Linked DNA regions of Homo sapiens: region 1 is linked to region 2. The links are contacts of gene promoters, found by promoter capture Hi-C in human tissues and cell types (Jung and others, 2019). All regions are on one chromosome and are shown on one strand. The core of a region is centred on a gene start or on the middle of the fragment in contact, and the rest is flanking DNA. Distances in the headings are between cores, read along the strand shown.

Region 1 (6,120 bases), core at 65-2,564, 1.3 Mb after region 2:
ACAATTCCTCATAGAGCTAGACAATGATTCAATGACTGAGTAGAATGCCACAAATCTGAATGATCAACCGTTTGTTTTCATCTCCAGTGGTTGTTCTCTTGGGCTCATAGAGCAAGTAATGACTAAACCAGGAATGTATTTGTTAAATTGCCCTGCAGTTAGAACACAGTCCAATTTCCTCTACCCTCTAAATCTGTATCCCTTATCACGTTGCTGGGGTAATGATACTAAGACCCCACCATATCCTCAGTCATCGAGAAATCGCTTATGTTTCTCTGTCTATATAGTAGACCCTCAACATTTAAAAAAGGTCATGTTTTGAGACTTCAAACCCTCCAATTTGCAACCTCAGAAGTATTTATGTTGACTTCTGTTTTTTCCCAAAATCACTTTTTTTCATCAAAAACCATCTGGTCCTCATGTTGATCTATACAAGATAAGTTAACCACCTTCTCAAATTTCACCAAAGTTTTCTCTCTCTCTCTCGATGGTGATTTTCCACTAAGAAATAGTTTTTCTTGCTTTGTGAGAGCTCATGCCTTCATAATGACTACAGGATCGGACAGTCAATGTGAAATGCCAATCTGGTGCCCTCACCAGCTAAATGGTCTACTCCTACATGCCCGCAAAATTAGAAATGACCACTTGATGGACCTTCAAGTTCCTTCACATGCAGTGAATCTTGGTGAATGCCAAGAGTGTGCTGTGAAGGTTCAGAGGAAAGGGGAGATGCACATTTTAAAAGACTTTCAGCCCAAAAGATCAAAGCGAGGATGTGTTTTCCTTTTTAATTAACCTTCAGTTAACCAGATGACCTAGTTAATTGTAACTTCCCAGTTAAAGGAAGGTTAATTCTAGTTCATCTGTATTGATTATTATAAAGTCCATGATAACCCAATGTCAGACAGAGATGAAAGTGATTCCCTCCTGCTGTGCAGAACCCCCAGGAAGTGCTGAGACTTCTGATCCAACTCTGGGTGGTGTCATGTGCCCCTGAGAGTATTTTCAACTTTCCCCCCTTTTCCATGACTGTGGATATTCAACACAACAGGAGATTAGTGTCAACACAATGGAAACCCTACCCATAAAGAGGTAAGCTTATTCCCACCCTTGGTTTAACTCTGCAGGGTGGAGCAATGGTGGGTACAGTGGGAGAAAACCAGAGGTAGGGAATGCCTAGTTTCTCCTTTGGCTTATTCCTCTCCACCTTGTGTCTGGTCTCTATCTAGAGCTAATCACTGTGCCTTCCCAGTGATCAGCTGACATCCACAGGACCTATTCTGTGGTATTTCCTCTGTCACTCTTGCTTTTGTTCCAAATCATTAAAAGAAGTAGCCTCAGAGGTCTGGGATTTTTGTAGAAAGAAGTTCCAGGTAACTTCTGGCCCTGTAAGCACAGACTTTGGAACCAAGGGCTCTTATTCAGTGCTCGATCGTCCATTCATAGTGTGCATTGAGATCAACAATGATGCCATTTTCTCCTAGAATATACCAAAGTACCTAAAAATTTTTTTTACTTTGCAAAATGTGCTAAGTGGAAATATTGATTTCTGATCCAGATACATTAATTTACATATATGCTAAATCTCAACCGTATCTTATATGGGAGGAAAATAAATCCTAGAGATTAGTAGGGTCTTGAAGTCTAAGAAAGAATTGTCATTGTCTGATTTGACTCCCCACAATCACTTTGGGAGATAGGCAGGAATAGTCATTGAAAAACAACAGATTAAAAAACAGGTTCTGAGAAAGTCAGTCAGTGTTGTATGTGTATTAGGTAGGCAGAGGGACAAGGACTGGAATCTAAGTCTTAGATCCTGCTCTCCACCTACTGCCTGGGACCTTGCTGTACCTCTGAATATAGACATTTTATGCCCCCTAGAGGGCTGTGATTTATTTGCATTTTGAAAGCAGTGCTAATTACGAATCTGGTGCTCGCACTAGATTGAGGCTAGGGGTCTCTGCACCAAATATTGCCATCATTATCCATAGGGAGTCTCTTTCTATTTGAGCCTTAGTTTGAAATAAGAACACAGTGGTTCACAGATTACCTCCAGGTTGTGGTGTGGTTAACCAACTTGGCAGGTGCTTTCATTTAAAAATGAAACTTCTGATCAGGGGTTTCCCCTGAAAGTACACAGCCCCACTGCAATTAGCATTCCCTTTCCCCATATTCACTCCTTCTTTCTTCTCCTGGTGGTGGAGATAATTTTGAATTCCCCATAACAGTCCTTTCAAATCCACAAAAGCACAGAGACAGAGACTTTGGAACCAACGGTTCTTTTTCAGTGCTCGGTTATCTATTCATAATGTGCACTGAGATCAATAATGACAGTTTTCTGCTTGAATATACAGGGAATCTCTAAAAATAATATTTCTACTTTGCAAAATGTGGTAAGTGGAAATATTCCTTCGGGTTGGCTCTTGTGTGATGAACATTTGGGAACCATTAAAGCTCCGTGTAAAGTGAATGAGTTCATCTGGGATCCTAACTTGGGCTTAGAGTTCACATCGTAGTTTTGACAGACAGCTGGCTTTGGTGTTCGGTTGTCTGATGCTAAATATTGCCCCAGTATAATGAATTTTAATAATTCTAGTTGGTACTCTTACAGGTCTATGTAATTAAGCTTCCTCATCCATTTTGGAGAACAGAGATGGCCCACGGCACAATCACAGTCAGACCAAAGTAGGCCATTCCCCCTCATCCCTCACTGATGGTACAAAAGATGTAGGCAGGCAACCCCTGAACCCTCCTTTTTCCTCAAATCCTCATAGGGAAAATGGGAGCTTAGCATTCTACTTCTGTATCTTGGGGTCTGATTCCAGGATAGGGTTGTGAAGGCTCCCTGGATACAGGTGTCACAAATGAAGCAAGAGTCCCAGAGCTGCTGTGTATAGATTTTCAGGGCCCCTGACTATTACTACAGAAGGAGAGGAGATTCCATCCAGCCCCGATTACAGTGTGAAGTCCTCTTCCATACCCTTTGCCACCCTGCCCCCAATTTTACCCTAGTGCCTTCCCCACCCAAACCTCAGCAATCCAAGTAGCCAACCCAGGACAGATATCTGTTAGAGACTGACCACTCAAAGGCTGCAGGAATGAGGTCTGCCACAATTTCACAGAGCAGAAAACCCTGCTCCCCATCACCCGGTTACACCTGAGCCAACCTGAGGGTCTGATGCAAGAGCAAGAGTGGGCAAGGGATGGGTTGGTTGCTTGGCCTGCTGCCTGCTGACAGGTCCCGGGTTGGTGTCACATATCATACTGTTTGATCTGTCTCCTTCCAGACCTCCTTGCATTATACTTAGGATTTTCCTCCTCGCTTCACTCCCCCAAGCTGTGCCTCTGTGCTCTTAGGATATGCCAAGGGGAATTACACAACTTGAACTAGTTTGCCATGCTGCTAAGACACTCGTCTGTTACTGATTTCTTCTGCTTTTTATTAAAAGCATTTCCATGTCCCTTGCTCAGAAACCTCTGAGTGTATATGCATAATTACCAAAATGCCAAGTCATCAGCATCCAACCTACTAAGGAATGTCAGACTCCAGGACACGAAAACATTGATCTTGCGCAATACTCAGAGGGGCCGGGACTTTCTCACGGAGTAAAGGTTCTTTTTTCTTTTAAAAATTGCTTTTATAGACTCGATCTTTGTAAGACAATTGTATCGTTTGGTGTTGGGAATCCTTTATGATTTTATAAATAAACTTTCAATAACATTGTTTTTACTTTAAAAAAAAAGACATGTTTTTCCTCCTCCCAGCACAATAGTGATGTAGCTTGTGTTTGACATGTGAGTCCTTGTGGGTGTCATCTACACTGGGTGCCAGTGAAATGATGAGAGCTTTGGAGGGAACTGGGATGTAGCTGTTGCCTCTGTTTTCAACAGGAGAAGCTTCCACGGATGGAAGGAGTTTAGTAGATAAAATAGGGCTATTTCCCTGTTGTCTTCCCTGAACATATCTTGAATTGTGACATAAGAGATGAGGATGTGGAACAACTGGTGTAGGGTGTGTGAAGCCCATGTCTGGCCAGGCAAAGTGGAGGATTATTGAGGAATGGTGGTGATTCTCTGGGCAGCTGAAGCCACAAGCCCTGCTCACACTCTCTTCCCTTGGTTATGTCCAAACTGAGTTGAGGTCAAAACCCACCAGATCAAGGTATGGTTTTCCAGATGCTGCACTGGGGCCAAAGAAGCTACTTTTGGGCAGGACTCTCTGCCCCGCTTTTCTGCAACAACTAGCCTGGAGGAAAGAACACAGACTTATCCAGCCACCACCCTAAAACAGCTACAAATGGGTCTGGCCAAGCCAGAACTCATCAATTTGCTTTCTCTTTTCTTCTTTTTTTAATAGATTTAGGGGGTACAAGTGCATTTTTGTTACATAGATATATTACATAGTGGTGAAGTCTGAGCTTTTAGTGTGGCCATCACCCAAATAGTATACATTGTACTCATTAAGTAATTTCTATCCCTCACCCTCTCCTGCCCTTCTGGGTCTTCAATGTGTATTATTTCCCTATGTCCACTTGTACATATTATTTAGCTCCCACTTACAAGGGAAATAATGCAGTCTTTGACTTTCTGTGTTATTTCACTTAAGATAATGGCCTCTATTTCCATCCATGTTGCTGCAAAAGACATGATTTCATTCTTTTTGTGGCTGAATAATATTTCATTGTGTATACACACATACACACACACACATATACAAAATCACATTTTCTTTATCCAGTCATCCATTGATGGACACTTGGGTTGATTCTGTATCTTTGCTATTGTGAATAGTGCTGCAAGAAACATACACGTACAGGTATCTTTTTTACATAATTTCTTTTCCTTTGGGTAGATACCCAGTTGTGGGATTTCTGGCTTGAATGGTAGTTATATTTTTAAGAACTCATCAGTTTGTTTTCAAGGAATGAGGCCCAGAAGTGAAATGTACCTTTTTCTGCCCAACTCTTCTGCTTTTTACAATTAATTACCTTGGTGCTTCATGTTGTTCTCTACATTACCATCACTGTCCCTGTCCCCGTCAGTTCTTAGTCACTCTGGAGAAGGGTCTGGTCCTTCATCACACAGTGGATGGGTAGGGCCCTGGGCATCTGACTTCAGGACCCCTTGTTTCACATGCCCTTATTAAACAAACAGTCTTGCTGCTCCATGTGGCCTCTTCCTCAAGTTACTGGGTCAAGGCCTGAGGCTTCTTGATGCCCTTTGATTCTAGTTGCACACTATTTTACTCTATCCAGCCACATTTCTGGAGTGTCTTGCTCCCCACCCTTACTTCTTGGGGAAGTCAGCTTCCCCAGAATGACTTTAGGTTTGTGATGATTTAAGAGCTTTAGTGACTTTAAGAGCTTTAGTTTGATGATTTAAGAGCTTTAATGACTTTAGCTTTGTGATGATTTAAGAGCTCTGAAACCTTTTTATAAAACAAATTTAGATTATAAACTTTAAGAGTCATTGTATCGCCCTGTGGGACCCTGACGTGCTGACTCATTTATTCTACATGTTTTCCTTGAGTACCTTCTCTAGGCCAGGCACTGTGCCAGGTGCTGGGTGTACAATGAGGATAACCAGAGAAGACAAGGTCTCTGCCCTCATGGAATTAAAAGTTGAATTAAGTAGATGTAACAAGTAGTTACTAATATGTAATTAATACTTGTGAAAGTGCTTTGAAAGGATGGACAGGGAGTCATGATAGAGGAGAACAGGAGGAATCTTCCTAGGTGACCAGACAAGGTCTTCAGAGAAGGTGGTGCCTCAGCTGAGAACTAGTGACTGAGGAGCAGACAGCCATTAGCTGAGGCGGGAGGAGGTGGGGTGGGGAAGGGAAATGGCATTCATCGAGGTGGGGAAAGCCTGCTTAGTTAAGGATGCCCAGGGAGGCCAGTGGCTAAAGCAAAGCAAGAGAGGGGAAAGGAGGTCCCAAGATCAGATCAGATAGGAAAGCAGGGGCCAGGTCACAGCAAGGAATTTGGATTTTATTCAGACAAAACAGGAAGCTGATTTGTGTTTTAAAAATGTGATTCTGGCAGCTGAGGTGAAAACAGATTATAAGATTCTAAGTGGGGAGACTGTGGTCCAGGTGAGGCTGAGGTAGCTGGGATTTGA
Region 2 (5,559 bases), core at 1,028-3,527:
GAGCCAGGTACCTTTGGCGCCCCCTACTGGACACCAAGGAGTCTGCTCCACCTTTAGGCTTCCACCGCCTCAGCACGGAAGCAAGGGAGCGCTTGAGCATGAGAGGCTGTCACAAGCTGTTTAGTAGGACTGCCTTCCCGGTTGGTGGTATTCTTTCTATAGAAGTCTATTGCACTCCCTAGAATTACACAGGCCATTGGTCCACAGATTTACAGGGGCACCCCTGCGCAGCCATAGGACGTCTTAACCAAACATCAAGGTACCAAGGAATAAACACCAGGGTTCAGAACACCAGGTGCAGCCCAGATGGAGAAGGGAAGAAAGAGCAACAAGCAGGTATTTCGCTGCACAAATCCCCAGTGGAGAGAAGGTCTTGGGAAATGCAGCAGAAAAATGTTGACTGCAGCAGACAACGATGGAGCTGGGGGTTGGGATATAGATTGATAGCACCCATAAAATATCTCCAGGCTGAAGCAGGTACCCTAGGAGTTTGAACATCCACCTACATTCAGGGATGGGATAAGGTGGAGGATTCAGGCTCAAATGAGCAGCCACAGAGCAGGTTCCCCAGACTCCCTACACACCGTTTCGACCTTTTCCAGAGTCCATTAGTACCCACCGGAAATGGAAATGTTCTAATTGTGGTCCTCTGTGCCATCATCAAGACCCTCAACTCCCTTCATTACCTCTTAAATTGACTTTAGGACCTACTGCCAGAAGGATGTTCTTAACCAAGTCAGAGAGAGAGAGAGAACATTTTCTCAAGAACCATGCTGGAACAGCCACCATGTTCCCACTTTTCCAGCCTCCACCTCTCCCCCATGGCTGAGGGTGAGGTACTCTGTGACTCTCAATGAGCTCTAATTCAGTCTTGGACATCTCCAGCCCCAAGTCGTCTGGGTTCCAAATCTCCGTCAATCGCTTATCTCTTCCCACATGAGTTCTCCCCTGACTCAAGAAAACACTATAGAACTGTCCCCTGTCCTGGGACCCTCTTCCCTTCTTTTCCACTTGGCTTCACGTGGAAAGTCCTGCACCCATCCCAGAAGACACCTCAAGTGCAACTCAAGAATGTGTCCTGTCAGGAGAACGGAAGCATCTCCTGGGATGTGCAGAAGCCACACTGGGTGCACCCACCAGCAGCAGCAGCGGCGGCGGCGGCGGCGGCGGCGGCGGCGGCGGCGGCAGCAGCAGCAATATTCATTAGTCATTCCTGGAGGAAGCCCCCCCAGCTCTCAACCCTAGGAGAATTTCCCCGCCACTCTGGGAGGCTTCCATCCAGGCTGGGATGACTTTGGATTCTTGAGTTGCTTTCTGCAGAAGCGGGACTAACCAGGGCTCCCAACTACTGTACTGCAAAGAAGCGCGCTGCATTGCTGGGCATGCCCCCAAGCCCGGCCTGGCTGCCCCATCAAAGCCTCCAAGTGCCCCCACGGGGTCGAGGAGGACTCAGGGTTCCCCTGGAATGCCTGAAGCCGGCTTGCCTCAGGCAGCCTGAAGGGAAGACCACACCTCGTCCAGCATAAGGCGGCTAGCAGCTACGCCGCGCGCGGGGCTGGCTCCCGGAGCTCTCTGCCACCCAGCGCTGTGCCCGGGAACTCGGCTTCCCAGGGGAGGAAGAGCCAGCCCGCGGGGCTCTTCCCCAGCCTGGAAGCGTAGGCACTCGGCCGAGGCCAGTGGCTTCCCAGGCCCGGGTCTCAGCCTGGCTGACTGGGAGACTCTCCCGATAGCCCGGCACATCCCTCCTCACCCGCTCCGCCCCCTCCAGGCCCCAGAGGCCCCCTCCCCTGACAGCTGACCTCCAGTGCGCCCCCAACACTTTCTCTGCCAGCTGCTGGCTGTCGCCCCCACACATCAGCTCCCACCTCTCCGCCACCTCCAACCCGGCCGCCGCCTCACCCCCAGCCCGCGGGGGAGGCTCCGCGCGCCAATCGAGTCCAGCGCCTCCCAGCAAGTTAGGAGCGAAGCCGCCGCCTTCGCGATCCCAGTCTTCCCGGGTTCCCGGGCGGCGTCCCCGCCACCCTTGCGGGCGGATCCGGGGGGGCGCGCAGAGCTGGAGAAACTTTCTCCGCCTTAGGGTGGGGGGCACCGGTGCAGATACTCACGCCGGGGTCAGCGCTCGGAGCCATCCTCCCGCTCTCGGCCCCGCCGCCTAGGGGCGTGGGAAGCGGGCGCTCGCTGCCGCCTCTGCCGCCGGCGCCGCCGCCTGCTTGCTCCCAGCCCCGGTCCCGGGCTGGCCTCGAGCCTCCCGCCCCGACGCCGCGCGCTCGCTTTATACAACTCCACTCGAGCGCGCCCGGTCTTATGTAAAGGCTGGCGGAGGCCCGCAGCCAATGGCGCGGCAGCTGGAGCCGGGGGCCCGGGGTGGGGGGCGCCGGCGCGGCCAATCGCGGCCCCGAGAGCCCGGAGAGCCGGGCGTGGGGAGGGAGCGCCTCCCCGCGCTGATTTAGGAGCCGGGATTGCGGTGGCAGCAGCCGGCAGCCAGGCTGGCCCGGCGCGGCGCGGCGGCCACTGGGGTGGGCGGCGGCGAAGGCGGCGGCGAGGGCGGGCGCCCCCCGCGCCCCGCCACTGCGTCGCGTAACCTTCAGGCGGCAGCGAGGCCTGGCGAGGAGGGGAGAGGGCGCCTGGCTGGGCGCTGGGGGCCCCAGGCCGGAGGGAAGCGAGGGTCCCTCGGGAGGCAGCGCAGGGAAGGAACGCGAAGGGGGAGGGGAGGGCGGCGAGCCCCAGGACCCCGCGGCCACCCCTGCGCGCAGGACCGAGGGTGGAGGCGGGAGCGGCTGCACTGCCTTCCCATTTCCCCCCAGGATAGCGATCTGGCGTCGCCGGGCCGGGCCAAAGCGGCCGAGCGAGCCGCGCTGATGGCGAGATTTCGACTACGGAGCTAGAGCCGAGCCGATCTTTATCCAGCCTGGGGACGTGTCCGAGCACCTCCCGGGGACTGCTCAGTATGGAGAGCAGGGCTCCGCGACGGCCCCCGCAGGCGGGGAGCGGGCGAGCGCAGCTCGGAGATCAGGCGCGCAGAGGCCCAGGCGGCTGCGGGCAGCGCCGCTTCTACCCCACCCCGTCCCCACCAGCAGTGCCCCCACCCCATCCCACCTAGTCCCTACCCCAGCAGTGGCCGAGTCGGGCCTGGCCCACCCGCTCCTGCCGCCTGCGTCCTACTAGCCTCCCTCACCGCTTTGATCACAGGTACTGCCCGCCTCTCCTCGCCCCCAACCCGCTGCCTTGGTGGTGGTGGGGGGATGGTTTCTGCCTCTCTGGACCAGGGGAATGGGGGTGCTAAGCGCCAGAAAAACACACTTGATCAGCAATGCTCAAAATACCCCTGTTCAGGCAGGAAACTGGCCTTGGTGGGTCACACTCTGAAGGCAAATCCTTTATTTTACGCCTAGAATAGAGCCTGGCACATAGTAGGCGCTCAGTGTTTATTGAATGAATTCTGAGCTTCCATGAGTGAGGTCTTTGGGTTTCTGAAAGCCAGGTAAAGGGGCCACAGAAGAGAAAGACTTGGGAATCCACCATCGGAGAGGGAAGGAGCTAGGACTGTTTTCCCATCCGTTGACGCTTTTGTGACCATCACCCACTAGTCTGGCTTCTGGGCCCTTGACTCTTAGAATGATTTGAATGTGTTCTTTTATAGAGGGCCACACATCCAGCCTCTGGCCCCTGTTATCCACAGATTTTGAGCAGAACTACCAGGACCTAGTCTGGGCTCTGTTTTCAGGTCTCTGTGATCTTCCTCTGAAAAGAAATAGCTAGGCACAGACAAACTTTCTGGCTTTTTGAGCCCCCATCAAGCCTGTAAGGTTGTGGGCCCCTTTGAAAATCTGGCAAAAATTACTGAATCATTTTTCTAGAAAAATATACAAACACACACATTTACACACACACACACACACACACACACACACACACACACACACACCTTGAGTATACTTTCAGGATCATTAGGAACCCTGAGTCTCTTGGGGCTCGGTCCAATGTCAACCTGTTTCTTCAGGGGTCTAGGACAGTAGTTTATAATCACCCTCCTTTTGGGGATCACAGACCCTTTAGAACCTTTCAAGAATCTCATAAATGTTATGGATCTGTTGCTTATAAAAATGCTCACTCACATACACACATGTTGACATGCAACTTTAGGAGGGTTCGTGGATCATTAAAACTTAATCTAGGGCCCTGATTAAGAACCTTCATCTATCGGCAAATAGACTCTGCCCCCAAGGCCATATCTGATCCCCAGCTCTCTGCATAAGGAGTCCAGTTGGCTCTGCACCCTGCTGGAACATGCCACCACCTTGTTCTGAGGGCATCTGAGTCATCTGGCCAAGGCTCTGGCACCTGAGAGACTGTCTCCACACTTTCTCTGCATCTTGGTCCCCGCCACCCTCTTAATGTGGAAATAAGTTGCAGGTTGTCATATTATGTCTGATCTATGAGCATTCCTTAGCCAGAAACTCCAACTCAGGGAGACAGCAAGTGACTGGTAATTAACCAGTTTCACTCAATCCCAAACATCTGAGCACACCTTTCTTGGTTTTTGTTCTCACCTCTCTCTTCTCCGGTGAAGCTGTGCACAGCAGCCCCAGCTGTAGCGCCTCACCTCACCCAGACCCGACAGATTTAGTAACCAGCACGGTAATTATCAGCATTAGCCAACCAGATGTGAATAGGTGCTCTGTGCAAAATAACTCTGTAATAATCTCACACTTTCCTGCAGCTAGCCAGGTAAGGTTACAACAGACCAAAGGTGCTAGGGAAGGACAGAAAAATGCAGGAAATGATGGAGATGTTCCAGCCAGGAAGTGCTCCAGGGAATACAATCTGGCTTCAGCACTTGAACTTGTGAGGGTTTAGCCCAGTGGGCCAGGCAGTCCTGGTTGGAAAATTTCTCATTTCTCTGATGTCCTCGATGTCCATTTGCTCAGTTCATGTCAGTGTCTGCTCAGAGCTCCAGCCCTTCCCCACCCCCAATCCCGTGAGAGACCTCTTGTCCTCCCACATTGCCCAAACACAGCTTTCTTGAGGCACATGCACACGGTTATAGACTGAATTGTGCCTCTCCGGACCAAATTCACATAGTGAAGCCCTAACCCTTAGTGTGACTGCATTTGGAGATAAGGCCTTTAAAGGGGCAATTAAGGCAAAATGAGATCATAAGGGTGGACCCTAATTCAATAGGACTAGTGTCCTCGTAAGAAGAGAGAGAGATACCAGAGATCTCCCATTTCTCTCTGTGCATCCTCAGGAGAAAGCCTGCCTGAGTAACAGGAGGAGGCCATCTGCAAGCCAGGAGCAGGGCCTCTGCAGAAACCAGACCTGCCAGCACCTTGATCTGGGACTTCCAGGCTCCAGAACTGTGAGAACATTAACTTCTGTGGTTAAGCTCCACGTCTGTGGTATTGGCTATGGCAGTCTGAGCTGACTAATACACACATTTTCAGCACACCCTTACCCCATGCATCTTGTTCAGGCTCCAGTCCTTTGACCCCAGTGAAGTTGTTTTTTCTTCAGAGTGTTCCCCCACAGACTTCTTCATTCTTACCTGGGGAACGTGCT

The links. Contacts are between HindIII fragments. The study calls those that stand out against the background at their distance.
Region 1: a contact is called between a fragment that was not itself captured here and the fragment with the promoter of CRTAC1 in region 2, in 1 of the 25 tissues and cell types used here (bladder).

Annotation. Positions count from the first base shown.
Region 1 is chr10:99,369,228-99,375,347 of GRCh38, forward strand. All of the region lies in intron 6 of CNNM1 (cyclin and CBS domain divalent metal cation transport mediator 1), which reads left to right. Among named protein-coding and RNA genes, the nearest start is that of CNNM1, 43 kb to the left of the region's middle. The HindIII fragment of the contact is 3,893 bases long and covers 1-3,261 here.
Region 2 is chr10:98,028,344-98,033,902 of GRCh38, forward strand. It overlaps CRTAC1 (cartilage acidic protein 1), which reads right to left and starts at 2,278. Exons shown (of 15, transcript NM_018058.7): 1 at 2,106-2,278. The coding sequence starts at 2,129. The HindIII fragment of the contact is 23,473 bases long and covers 1-5,559 here.